Linked DNA regions of Homo sapiens: regions 1 and 3 are each linked to region 2. The links are contacts of gene promoters, found by promoter capture Hi-C in blood cells and fetal thymus (Javierre and others, 2016). All regions are on one chromosome and are shown on one strand. Each heading gives the region's core, a stretch centred on a gene start or on the middle of the fragment in contact. The rest is flanking DNA. Distances are from core to core; before and after follow the strand shown.

The links. The method cuts DNA at HindIII sites, captures the fragments that hold promoters and counts their contacts. A CHiCAGO score of 5 or more calls a contact.
Region 1: a contact is called between a fragment that was not itself captured here and the fragment with the promoter of LINC02453 in region 2, in 3 of 17 cell types (monocytes, M0 macrophages and activated CD4 T cells). The highest score is 14.3, in monocytes.
Region 3: a contact is called between a fragment that was not itself captured here and the fragment with the promoter of LINC02453 in region 2, in 1 of 17 cell types (monocytes). The highest score is 5.1, in monocytes.

What each region holds. Positions count from the first base shown.
Region 1 is chr12:98,405,779-98,410,599 of GRCh38, reverse strand. No RefSeq gene overlaps it. Among named protein-coding and RNA genes, the nearest start is that of TRD-GTC1-1, 95 kb to the left of the region's middle. The HindIII fragment of the contact is 7,332 bases long and covers 1-4,821 here.
Region 2 is chr12:98,501,773-98,506,152 of GRCh38, reverse strand. LINC02453 (long intergenic non-protein coding RNA 2453) reads left to right here and starts at 2,298. Exons shown (of 4, transcript NR_038383.1): 1 at 2,298-2,393; 2 at 3,541-3,570. It overlaps TRD-GTC1-1 (tRNA-Asp (anticodon GTC) 1-1), which reads right to left and starts at 2,650; the gene lies at 2,579-2,650. It overlaps TRW-CCA4-1 (tRNA-Trp (anticodon CCA) 4-1), which reads right to left and starts at 1,901; the gene lies at 1,830-1,901. RefSeq lists enhancers at 1,941-2,240, 2,251-2,560. The HindIII fragment of the contact is 12,452 bases long and covers 828-4,380 here.
Region 3 is chr12:98,384,907-98,389,751 of GRCh38, reverse strand. No RefSeq gene overlaps it. Among named protein-coding and RNA genes, the nearest start is that of TRD-GTC1-1, 120 kb to the left of the region's middle. RefSeq lists an enhancer at 3,571-4,072. The HindIII fragment of the contact is 2,178 bases long and covers 1,905-4,082 here.

The sequences.
Region 1 (4,821 bases), core at 1,948-4,447, 96 kb after region 2:
AGTTCACAGTTCTGGAGGCTGGGAAGTCCAAAATCATGGTGCTGACATCTGGTGAAAGCCTTCTTGCTGTGTCATAACATGGCAGAGGGCATCACATGGTGAAGGGCAAGAGTGTGCCAGCTCAGGTCTCTTTTCCTCTTTTTATAAAGCCAGCAGTCCCATCACAGGGGTCCTACCCTGATGAGCATGTCTAATCCTAATTACTTTTGAAAGGTCCCTCCTCCAAATTCCATCAACATATGAATCTGAGGATTAAGTTTCCAGCAAATGAAATTTGGGAGATGCATGTAAACCATAGCAGTCAGTTTAATTATTATTTCAGTTGGCCTGAGGGAAAAGAATTTCTTGCTTAAACTTTTTTTGGATAGAGTTAAAAGACATTTTCTAAAATATCCAGGACAGTCTTTGGTGAATAGGTCTTGGTATGTATTTAGGAGGATAATTAGAGAAAAGGGGGGCTTTAAAAGTGACTTATGCGCTATCTCTACTAATTATTTTTAATAAGGAGGGATTCGTGATGCAGAGTACTATTTTTTTCTCCCTTTGCATGTCCAAAGCAGAAGCAGTGTTGTATATGTGCTGAGGCATATCAAAGCCTGGCTGAATCTTCCTTAGCAGGTCTGGTAGTTTGATGTTAGTTCAAAGGAAACCTCCAGTCCCAAAGACTTTTAAATTTCTTTCTGCAAAATAAATTAAATGCTGAAAAGCCAAAAGCCAATATAAACCTCTCTGTGCCTCTGTATGTGAATGACATAAGCAAGTTGTTTCTCTTCAAAGTATTCTTTGGAAATGCATGTTTTTCTTGTGCATAGCATATATTTACATGATGTTCAACGTATGATGCAATCTTGGAAAGACAGACCAAGAAGATGGGGGCTGCTGCTGAAGATGGCTCAGCTCAGAGTTTTGTGCTTGGCTCAAAGTGGGGCACTGTGGGAGGCTGAATGATTGCATGCTATGCCATACTTTATTCTTCACATTGAAGTCTTCTTGTTTTTTAAATTACATTTTAATTTTTTTTCTTGTAGTTAGAGATAGGGTCTACCTATGTTTCCCAGGCTGGTCTCGAATTCCTGGGCTCAAGTGATCCTCCTGTGTCAGCCTCCTAAAGTGCTGGGATTATAGGCATGAGCCACTGTGCCCAGCCACATTGAAATTTTCTTTTCTTTTCTTGACAGAGTCTCGTTCTGTCACCCAGGCTGGAGTGCAGTGGTACAATCTATACTACAACTTCTGCCTCCTGGTCTCAAGCGATTCTCCTCCTTCACCCTCCTGAGTAGCTGGCATTACAGGCACATGTCACCACACCCAGCTTATTTTTGTATTATTGGTAGAGACAGGGTTTGGTCAGGCTGGTTTTGAACTCCTGACCTCAAGTGATCTGCCTGCCTCAGCCTCCCAAAGTGCTGGGATTACAAGCATGAGACACCATGCCTGGCCACACATTGAAGTTTTCTAAGGCACACCTATAAGCATGTCATCCTCTCCCCCAGGTGAATAAAGAAAGACATCCTACATTTGACCTATAGGTTCTGCAGGGTCTTACCCTTTCCTCATTTTCCAGCCCCACTTAATTCCATCCTCGTTCTTTTGTTTCTTCACCTTCCTCCTACTACAGGGCCTCTGCATGACCATTTCCTTTCTCATGGAAAAAATACCATCCTTGTTCTTCTGTTTCTTCACCTTCCTCTTACCACAGGGCCTCTGCATGACCATTTCCTTTCTCACGGAATTGACCTTCTGACCTCTTTGCGTTGCATAACTCCTATTATCATTTAGATGTCAGCTATCATCACTGCTTTATACAAATCTTTTCTGATGTCCTTGTACAGTTCAAACCTATTACACGCTCCCAGACCAGGATGCACCTCCTTTTATGGTGTCATCATCATTGCTGTAGTTACACATTTATTTGTGTGATCAGCTAATTCATATCCATCTCCCCCACTAGACTGTAGTCTTTATGGGCCATGAGACTGTCTCTTTTCACTCACTGTTACATCTCCTGTGTCAAACACTGATTCATTATGGGTGCTTAATAGATATTTCTTGCATGAGTGAGCAAATGAATACCAAAGCCAGTAGATTTCAGAAAAAGTTGGGTAGAAGCGGTGTGGCATGGTGGAAAGAGGACTGGCCTAATGTCAAGAGCCCAGAGCACTACACTTACTAAGTCAATAAACCAAGTATTAATCTGACCTCCTATGAGCTACACACAGTGGATACCCAGGTTGGTGAGAAGACTAAGATGCCATCTTTGCCCTTGAGGACTTCATTGTCTGCTTAGGGAAACAGAAACACAAATTGGTCCTTAAAATACATTGTGGTAGGTACCATGATGAACATATCAAAGTCACGGTGTGTGTGTGTAGGTGTGTATGCATAAACAATAGCATTGACTTTAGCTTGGGTGGTTAGGTCAGGCATCACAGAGGAGATCCCTTTCACTTGGGTCTTTAAGGGCAACAGGAGTTTGCTTTTTGACTCTGGGAAAATAATTCATCCTCACTCATTCCACAAATAATTTTGAGAACCAATCAATAGGGATTATTATTTAATTTTCTGAAGACTCAGGTTTTTCATCTGTAAAAGTGGCAATGATGCATTTTTTTTTGAGAGAGCATCTCCCTCTGTTGTTTACACTAGAGTGCAGTGGCGTGATCACGGCTTATTGCAGCCTTGACTTCCCAGGCTCAAGCAGATCCTCCTACCTCAGTCTCCTGAGTCACTGGGACTACAGGCATGAGCTACCATGCCCAGCAAATTTTTATTTTTTTTGTAGAGATAAGGTATCTGTATGTTGCCCAGGCTGGTCTTGAACTCCTGGGCTCAAGCAATCCTCCCATATTGGCCTCCCAAAGTGCTTGGATTACAGGTGTGAGCCACTGCGCCACCAGGCAATGATGGAGTTTTCCCTGCCTACTTCACAGGGCTTGTGGTGGTTTGGTATCGGAACTCATCATCATCCTTTCCAACCTCCATAGGGCACCTTCCAGAACAACAGAAACTGGAAAGGTAGGCATTGCATTTCCAAGACTCTCTTGCAGCTAGGGTTACAACCATGATTTAGATTTCTCCTAGTTCCAATAACTCATCATATGAAAGATGGACTTTAGGTGGAAGCCATCTTCTTGTTGCTTTGCTGGTTTGACTGTTTGGGCTGGTGAGCCTGGTCACAGAGGCATTTTCCCCCTGCAGCAATGTTCCAGTGCTTACTACCTAGTTCTGAGGGTGCTGAGAGGGATCTGCAGCACCAATGACTTCCTGATCCTTGTTTTGCAAGCTCAGTGGTATGTCCTTGAATTCAATAGTTCCAGGAGTGGCCTCTCCGTGGACCCTTGTAACTGATTCTGGCAAAGTGGGGGCCAGTTCAACAGTGTTGTTTAGGTGGTCATTCCTGGAGGCCCAGTTTAGAACCCATTCTTCTAGCCCTCCAACAATTTTGTAAGAGATGAATTTTTTTGGGCCGGGTGCGGTGGCTCACGCCTTTAATCCCAGCACTTTGGGAGGCTGGGGCAGGCAGATCATGAGGTCAGGAGATTGAGACCATCCTGGCTAACACGGTGAAACCCTGTCTCTACTAAAAATACAAAAAATTAGCCAGGCGTGGTGGCAGGTGCCTGTGGTCCCAGCTGCTCAGGAGGCTGAGGCAGGAGAATGGCGTGAACCCGGGAGGCGGAGCTTGCAGTGAGCCGAGATCGCACCACTGCACTCCAGCCTGGGTGATAGAGCGAGACTCCATCTCAAAAAAAAAAATAAAAATAAAAATAAATAAATAAAAAAAGATGAATTTTTTGGATTAAAATTTTTCTGATTAAAATAACTGGAGTGCTGTCTTCAGTCTCCTTTTACTGAAGTCTAACTCATAAAAGGCTAGTGTGCTGTACCAGTGAGGCAATAAGTGTAGAAGCACTGTTCATTCATAATTTATTCAATAGATACTTTTTGAGTATCTACTATGACCAGATACCGAGCTCAGCGCTTGGAAATACAACAGTGAATAAGAGAATACAGTCCTTGAATCATGGAGCTTATGCCCTAGGGGAGGAAGCAAACAGGAAATAAGTGAAAAACACTTAAGATAATTACAGATGGTGACAAATGTTATGAAGAACATATAAAAGGGATTGAGCTAGAGGATACAAGGCAGTGGGAGGAGGAGAACTTAGAGAAATCGGAATAGATGTCTCTGAAGAAGTGACAACTAAAGAAGCAGTTATATGAATGTGTGTGCGCGTATGTCCATGCACGTGCACGTGTGCACAAATTCATGTGCATAGCCAGGGTAGCAAGAATACTCCAAGCAGAGGGAACAGCATACGCAAAGGCTCAAGGTTATTGTATAAACAGCGATATTGCTGGCTTGAAGGTGAAAACTTCCTAAACTGGGTGGGTAAGCTCAAGGCGACATTGTAAAGCCTGTGGTTTATTGTTAGTATTTCCTGTTGGCCCTTTCAGCTCATTCTCTTACCTAAACAGCTCCTTCCACAACACTTCTGGAAACTTCTGCTGCCCATTCAATAAACTCATTCACTCAACACATATTTATGGAGCACTTGCCATGTCTCAGAGTGGTGCTGTGCACTGAGAATAGATATATACATAACAAAGACATAGTCTCTGCCCTTGAAGAACTTACAGGCTCCATCTGGGCCTGCCAATCTGCAGGTTTTAGACACTTTACTTCCTTTCTGTCCTTATTAAAGTGACTAGTCCTGTGTCCCAACCTCAGAACTCAGCTGACCTGCTAGCCAGGTTTCTAAAAATACACTGGCAATTTAATTCCACTCCATACTCCTCTTAGCATATGGTGGTTGTCAA
Region 2 (4,380 bases), core at 1,049-3,548:
GTGTAGTGGGGTGCACTTGTAATCCCAGCTACTTGGGAGGCTGAATCGTTTGAACCTGGGAGGCGGAGGTTGCCACTGCATTCCAGCTTGGGCGACAGGGTGAGACTCCATCTCAAAAAAAAAAAAAAAAAAAAAATTCAGCCCATAACAGAAGCCATTTCTTCCCTCTGGCATCATTTGCATATACTGCATATATCGTAGCTTGGACCAATCATGTTAACTCATTTGGACAAAACCATATTTTTGTGATGTAGATGGAGAGGTTGTATCACCTTGTTATAGCCTCATACAACCCAATGTGGAGTTACTGTCCACTGTTTTAGCACCCCCATACCACTCTGTTCATGTTACTTTCATGGTTCTTACCAAGTAACATGAACTTACCCCAACACATTATGGCGTTTGGTGGCTTAACATATCTGTCTCCTGATGCTCAAAAAAACCCATTTTTACTCAGTGTATCCTCATCCTTAGTACTTAGCACAGTATCAGGCTCATCAGAGTTGACAGTCCATAAATACCCGTTGAAATGGATGATCTAATTTTAATCCAAACAGGAGAGGGAAGAACAAACCACACCATGTGCAAATATAATTTCCAGGTATACTGCTACATTAGGTTGAATCAAAAGAAATTAGTGTTTGGTATTTTCAAAATACTAAGCAGAAAACCTCAGGAATTTTACAAAACATATCATCAAAATCTAAAACTATTAATTTCTCATAGTCTTGCTATTCATTTTCTGTTCAACAAATATTTGACACTTACGTGTAGGGCACTATTTAGTACTAAGAGTCCTGGAGCTTGCAAATGTGAACGAGCAAGCTTTGCTTCCTGCTATTAAAGAGATTAATAGTCAAAAGTGGTGACTAGTCATCACTCGCATAATCGGTGAAAACATAAAAGGCGCCCAGTCCAACAGCTTTTCCCACATTCCTCCCCGCCACCCACCTCCAGAAGGAGTCTTGCTTGGTCACCCAGGCTCACTGCAACCTCCGCCTCCCGGGTTCAATCAATTCTTCTGCCTCAGCCTCCGGAGTAGCTGGGATTACAGGTGCACCCCACCATGCCCAGCTAATTTTTGTATTTTCAGTAGAAATGGGGTTTCACCATGTTGGTCAGGCTGGTCTTGAACTCCTGACCTCGTGATCCACCCACTTTGGCCTTCCAAAGTGCTAGGATTACAGGTGTAAGCCACTGAGCCTGGCAGTCACACATTCTTTCAACTGTTTGTTTCCACCTTTATTATAAAGTATTTATAAAGAGGGATCCAGAGTCCCTCACCTGGTTCAGAATCTTGGGTGACCCTTGGCAGGTCACTAACCCTGTGAGCCACAGCCACATTTGTAAAAGTGGGATAATAGTCACACATTGTGAGGTTGTTCACAGTGTTGGCACATGGTAAGGGCTAAGACACTTGATTAGCATAATATTCAAAATTAGAAATTGTACACTATTGTACTCTCTTTCAAAAGGCAAACAGCCTAAAACTGTTTGGAAAAAACAGCTTGTACAGTATATTGTACACTTCCTGTGATAGACTAGTGGACTGATACACCCACTAATGCACAGCAGTAATAGTCCACCTCTTTACACATTATGCATGTTAAGTGACAAAAAAACTCACTTTAAAAGGCCAAATGATAAAAACATCAGCCTTGAGGCTCTTCGATATAGAGTAAATCATATCTTCCTGCAAACCAAGGATTAGTATCATAATACCTGAAAGAGGAAAACTTAATTCTAACATTCAAGAAAATTGGCGGCAGGAATACACCTCGGCTTCTAGTAGTCGGTAGTTTAAAATACAGGAGGAAAAAAAAAAAGTTTGACCCCGACGTGATTCGAACACGCAGCCTTCTGATCTGGAGTCAGACGCGCTACCGTTGCGCCACGAGGTCCTGCTGGGCTGTGGCTCGCGCAGTTTCTTAGGACACCAGTAAATGGCGTTTCTTCCAGGGGTACCAGTCTTTCTCTTCCATTTACTCTCTGCCCCTCCACCCAGTATCTGTCGGACCAGGAGACCGATTCCTTCAGCGTCCAAACTTTCCTGACTGCTAGTCCTCTAACCAAGGCTGGGACGTAACCAGCGGAAGCGGGAGAACGGGGCTTCCCGTTTAGTCGGGTCTCCAGGATCAAAGGAAATTGGCCCTTCCTTTTCTTTACCAAATGATTTCCGTTCTTACCCGCCCTGCCCCCGCCCCGTTAGTCGCGAGACTCCGCCCTCTCTCCCCTCCCCCAACAGGTTCCGCGCGCTGAGTTCGCGACCTCGAGTTGTAATCTGGCGGGGCGCCACTAAGCCGGCGCAGGCCTTCGCAAGATGGCGGCTGGAGGCAAGGGCAGAGGCCTTCAGAGCGTTTTCTTTTTCCCTTTCCTCCCTTCCTGCAAACAATGTAAGGCATTTTCTCTCAGGGGAGGCTTTCACTTCATGGTGGGCATTAAGGTTAAAAGTCACCATTTTGAAGACAGGGTTGTGCACTTAAGGGAGCTGGTTTAGCATATTATGTTTAACAGCAGTGTCCTGTCATTGAATGATACAGAAAATAATAACTGTCGCCAAAAAAGTGCAGCTACACACCTCCCCGTCGGGGAATTGAACCCCGGTCTCCCGCGTGACAGGCGGGGATACTAACCACTATACTAACGAGGAGTCGTTAGGCTGTGTATTTTCTCAGACAGCCCTTCAAGGAGCAGTAAGATCCTTCCAGCGCTCCGTAACCTTCCGCCTGCCCCCGGGAAGTACGAAAGTCCGGTCTCTTGGAGCCGCTGCTTAGGCTTATTGTCCTCTCTGGGCGCTTTGTATTCTTGATGTTGGTGGGAAGAATAAAAGGTGTGGAATATGTGAAGGAAACGCGCTTCCCATGTTAGTGCTAGAGAAGTGTGTGAAAATAGTTTTTCCGAGGCTCTTGACGCGTTCTAAATGATTTAGGTTGCCGTCCTGAGTTTTTTTTTTTTAACTGACCACTGGTATGTGACTTGCGGCTGAGCCTTCCCCTTACAAATTTATACTTTCACTCTGAAGTTCAAGTTCAAGGATAGCATATGGCTGCCAGATGTCGGGGACAGTTAGGGTTGCCACGGTCTCGTGCCTCTTCAAACAATTCATAAGTCTTTTTTTTTTGAGAGGAAGTCTCGCTCTGTCCCCTAGGCTGGAGTGCAGTGTTGCGATCTGGGCTCACTACAACCTCCACCTCCAAGGCTCAAGTGATTCTCCCGCCTCAGCCTCTCGAGTGGCTGGGATTACAGGCGCGCACCACCATGCCTGGCTAATTTTTGTATTTTACTAGAGACGCGGGGTGTGTGTGTGTGTGTGGGGGGGGGGAGGGTTCACCATGTTGGCCAGACTGGTCTCGAACTCGTGACCTTTAGTGATCCACCTGCCTCGGCCTCCCAAAGTGCTGGGATTTACAGGCGTGAGCCACCGCGCCCGGCCAATTCACACACTTTTGTAACACAAAAGCGCCCAATGAAATGACCAGCTGCGGGCAAATGAAATTTTATCAAAATTTTATCAGCCGACTTCTGTTTCGCTCTCTGTAGGTGGCTACAGTTTAACTGGAAGTGACAAACGTAAGTATGTGAATGGCTAAATAATAATGCGTTTAAATAATTCAAAACCAGGATGTGCCACTGATTAAACATATGGGTTAGGAAAGTGCACTAATCGGATAATTTGATAATTTGTGTCATCCTAAACCCGTTCATAGACAGGATGAACCCTCTTCCCAGGGATACTAAGAGAGCCTTATATGTAAACTTTTTTTTTTGAGACGGAGTTTCACTCTTGTTGCCCAGGCTGGAGTGCAGTGGTGCGATCTTGGCTCACTACCACCTCCGTCCCCCGGGTTCAAGCGATTCTCCTGTCTCAGCCTCCCGAGTAGCTGGGATTACAGGTGCCCACAAACACGCCCGTTCAATTTGTGTTTCTAGTAGAGATGGTAATTCACCACGTTGGTCAGGCTGGTCTCGAACTCCTGACCTAAGGTGATCCACCCACCTCGGCCTCCCAAAGTGCTGGGATTACAGGCGTGAGCCACCGCGCCTGGCTATAAACTTTTGATTTTCTCTAAAGGAGTGTGTTTATAGGCACAGATAAACTGACATGATTGAAAGCGTTTCATTATAGAACTTAAACTTACGTGTCTCGTCTCCGACCCAACCAATCAGGACTCCCAACTCACTGACCCCTACCCAACAAATTATCCTTAAAGATAATAAAAATAACAACAACAACAACAACAACAACAAAAACCCCACATATGTGTCTTAAGGAATCCCTTGTTTCTAGTGTGCTACGAATTAATGTATTATCCATCATAAATTATAAGGTATTTTTCATCTGATGGAAGGGATAATTTTTTTAATGCAGATATTAAACAA
Region 3 (4,845 bases), core at 1,744-4,243, 120 kb after region 2:
TCAGAGGGCAGGACCAGTCAGTTAGGAACTGGCTGTGAAGCATTAGTCTAAGACTTCATAAGAAGGAGAGGATATGATTTGAGTTGGAATCTAGCTGATAGACAGAAGTTTGCAAAATAGAACCCATCATGATAAAATGAAGTCTTTTGAAACTTCTAGGAAAAATCATTTTGAGAGTTAATAGTAATAGTAATTATAATAAAGTTTAACTCAATTTTCTCAGCACTATGGTGCTGCTTCTGTGAATTCTTGGCTTTACAGTACAGGGTTCCATATTTATCGGGATTGAGGAAGGTATGTAGCCTGCCAAGTAAGCACCATCTGTATTTTATTTTTTGACATTTGAGAAGCACTGCAGATAGACCCAATCTCCATCCACTTCCCATCTCAGCTTCCTGGGTCACTGCCTGAACTCTCACATAGAAAGGTGACACGAAAAGCCGGTGGGGTTATTATTACCTCTATCCCATGCCTTATTGCCTCCATTAAAGAAAAATGGGTCTGAGATGGGATCCTTCGCCCAGGGATCTGAGGAGGCTAGCCTCAGGCCCAGGGGTCATTTTTTACCACAGTGAGCCTGATGCAGGGAGTTCTTAGAGGGAAAACTTGTTAGCCAGAGAATGAAATTCTATCTGGGGCTTCGCAGCTCTGTAATAACCCCTCTAGTGACCTCACCCAGATGCATAAGTCCACTGATGCAAGCTGGCCAGTTTGGCCTTCTCTTCTGTGTTGTAGGCAACGGCTTCGGGGAAGAAAAGAGGGCAAGGTGCACGGGAAGAAATGAGCTCAAAGGAGATTGTGCCAATTACTGCACCTGTCAGTGTTCAACAACAGATAAAATTAATTCGGAAACCCAAACAGTCTGCAGAAAACCGAACACAATTATCTAAGAAATTAAGTTATACCGTTGCCATGACCTTTAATCAATCATCCAACCGTTAATGTTAATTTTGTGATCTAAAAATCATAGTTCTATTTGCATTTTAATGGCTGCTAAATGAGTGTCATCAGGAAGAAATAATGGCAGGGTGGCCTTTTGCTACAAATTCTTCCTTCCTAATGGTGATGCACAAAGCGAGGAAACGGGTGTTTGGAAAAGGTTTTGTTTCACCTCCCAGCAGATGTATGGAGCTGCCCTTCTCAAATGAAAAAACAAGCAATTCCCCACAAATACCACCACCTGTTGTTATAAATAAATCCAAGCTGTAAAATGGAACGAAAGCTTAATGGCAAAATCATTATGCACCTCCCACCCCCTCCCGTCAACCCTTCATAATAGCCTCTTAACAACTTGTTCCTCAGTCGTGTACCTTTTTAAGTTTTCGACCGCCATCAGGTCCCAGCCCTAACCAAGAGAAATGGCCTGTGGATTTGTGGCTAAAAATAAAAAGTTACCAACCTCGGGGAAAATGATCACACGTCCATTTGCACGGTTTAAGTGGCTAGAAACTGGCTACGTGCCACTCTACACTTAGGGTTCCCTTTAATTCTTAATCCAGACATCCAGTGGCTTATTTTACAGCTAATGAACCTAACCTTCAGGTGGGAGCATAAAATCCTAATTAAATCCGGGCATCATGAGGTTATTGGCAGGCTGTCTATAATTCGGCAGAATCTTGATTCTGTGAGTAGCGATAGGAAAATTATAAAACATTTGAATTGGAATGTTTTATCCTTTAATTATCCTCTTACCCATCTCCAAACTCTATTTCCCGACGGACTTTATCACTCTATCTATAAATATTGATTGTTTAGCAGGCCCGGGATATTACACTTATTAAAAATATTGCATTCCTCACCTGAAACTCAGCTTCTTTCCTTAAATCTCCTGTGAGAAGACTTAGATGAATTATTTCTTCTGATGAAAGAGGTCTTAACATTATAAATTGGGGGAGAAAAAAGCTTTAAAAATAAAGAGCTTCAGAGATTTTTTCTGAGTACAGGACACTCAAATAAGGAAGGGAGGGTAAAATATTAGAGATGGATGCTAACTTATTTTTTTCCTGCAAAGAAAAGGTGGGGGGTGGGTAATGTTCCTGCAAAGATTGCAAAACTCCATTTCATAAAAGATTTATTAGCAATGACAGAGGGAGATTGCTGAGTGGAACTCTGATAAATGCCTCGGCTTTTTTTCCCTGCTTTAAAATTATGGGTTCTGTCCATAAAGTACTGATTAATTCATATTCACTCAATGACATACCCTTTTTTTTTCCTCCCCCAAGCAAAGATTGTAAGCATTTTACTTCAACAAACAGTACTCTGGGTGGGATGCATACTAATTCATTTAGCACTGGAACTCGCACCACAACTTATGCAGCTAATCACAGCAAAGCAGGAAAGAATCTTTTCTTTTACTGTGACAAGACCTGCCTACCTTTCAGCGTTTTTCCCCCTAAGGTATTATTAATCTCAAAACTTTACAAAATTGAAGACTTATCTAAGATCCTTCAAAACAGAATAGCGTCATATGTAGCAACTCCCCAAGAGAGAAAATTCTTTGCTTTTCTAAAAGACTGACTGCAGCAATTGGGAGTCCTTTCTTGTTTTAAAAAAATCCAGATAAGTAACTGGAATGTGTTCTAAATTTTCAGATTTAAAAATACAGTATTTATTTTGGAATACTGGAAGGTTCCGGAAGAGAAAAAATGGCAAAGGACCTGGAGGGAGGAGAGTAGATGTTCGGCCACAGATCAGGAGCCAGTGGTGGCCATTCCCTGAGGTTTACCTGGGAGAAACACGAGGGTAGTAAAACAAGATGGCCAGACCTCCCTGCTTCCGAAGGTTACCTTCGTGCAGAGAGTCAGCAAGCATTTTTCCTTTTTTTCTTTTTTTTTTTTTTCTTGAGACAGAGTCTCGGTTTGTCTCCCAGGCTGGAGTGCAGTGGCGTGACCTCGGCTCACTGCAATCTCTGCCTCCTGGGTTCAAATGATTCTCCTGCCTCAGCCTCCTGAGTAGCTGGGATTACAGGTGCCTGCCACCACGCCCGGCTAATTTTTGTATTTTTAGTAGAGACAGGGTTTCACCATGTTGTCCAGGCTGGTCTTGAACTCCTGACCTCAGGTGATCTGCCCGCCTGGGCCTCCCAAAGTGCTGGTATTACAGGCGTGAGTCACTGAGCCTGGCCACATTTTTCAATTTTAATAAAGTTTTAAAATAAGAACAAAAATACATTTAAAATATTGGAAAATATAGTGAATTACTAGCAAAAGAATGATTTTACCAGCTAGTACTGTGCTAGACATAAATCTGGATTAGTAAGAAATTTTCCACAAAAAAGGATCTCTTTAATTCTGGTTTGGGAAACAGGGGACTGTAACCTCCATGAGGGCAGGTACCATGTCTATCTGATACTCACATGGCCCCGTGCTTGGCATACGGTAGATGCTCATATATATTTGTTGAGGGAATGAAGTTCTAAATAAATATTAAACAACAGTGTATGTCCAAATTTGATTTTGGATAACTTTGATTTGAAAGACCTAAAAGTATTGAAGCAGCGTTGTTCATCTGGGGTAACACCTGAGGCTTGTTGTCTTATGGCAAGGAAATCAAAGACACGGACACATCTGGAGTGAGGTTAAGAGCAGAGGTTTAATAGGCGAAAGAAAGAGAAAAGAGAATAGCTCTCTGCAGAGAGAGAGAGGGGTGCCTGAGTGGGTCTGCTGGTTTTGTGGTGAAGTTGTGTCCAGGGGAAGAACATGTAGGATTCCTGAACCTTTTAACTAGGGATCCAAGATCTGAAAACTGTTGTGATGAGACTCCCACAGGTTTGAAGAGGCTGAGTTCCAATCAAACACAGGGTTTTATAGATGAGCTTGAGGAGGTGGTGTCTGATTAACACAGGGCCCAAAGATGGTTGGACCAGGTGTGCCATTTACATAGCCTGTGAAGAAGCTGGCCACCCCACCCTAGTCTTTTATTGTGCAGATGAGTTCTCTAGCTGGCGGCTCCATGTTGTCTGTTCCTTACTGAACATGTGGTTGACAAAGAAAAGGGAAGAGGGAGCTGCCATGTTGAACATGCCTGGCCCCCAGGTAGCCTTTTTCTATTGGCATAGCTGCTGGTATTTACCTATGTAAGCTTTTAGCTTGCTTATCTATGCTTGCAGCTTGATTTTTCAGGCTGCTTTTTGTTAGGAAAGAAATGATTTTGGGGCTGCTTTTGTTTTTTTTAAAAGGAAACCTTATTGAGAACTCTCTTACCCTCCCTATCTGCCTAAATAATTTCTTTTTAGCTCCTGTATCAGTATTGTCATGATCTAGGCTTTTGAGCGATTTCTAAGTTGTTTCATTAAGGTCTAGTTTAAATAGGTGGAGAATGGCTAGACACCAAGTTGCAGGGGAGGGGGGACATGCTACGATGGAAGATGCCTTCCACCAAGAATAACATCGACTTATTGAAAGTTTCTCTGTGACAACTACGGAACTAAATCTAATTTACCTCTTTCAGTCTTTACAACAACTCTGAGAGGTATGAGTTTTTATCGCTATTTTATAGTTTGGCTCAGAAAGCATCATAAGTGATTGATTGAGATCATACAGCTAGTAGGTGGCAGACCTGGGACTCAAATGCTCCTTGTATGACTGCAGCCTTTGGGCTCATAAATGCCATGCTTTACTGTCTGGAGGCTAGGTCAGCCAGAGATGGGAGCCAAATGTAGCACATCCAGGGTTGGCACATAGGGATGTGAGTTTAGAAGATCCCTCTCAAGGAGTTGCGTCCAGGGGAAGAACATGTAGGATTCCTGAACCTTTTAACCAGGGTCTACTAGGGATGCAAGATCTGAAAACTGTTGGGATGAGACTCCCACAGCTTTGAAGAGGCTGAGTTCCAATCAAACTGGCA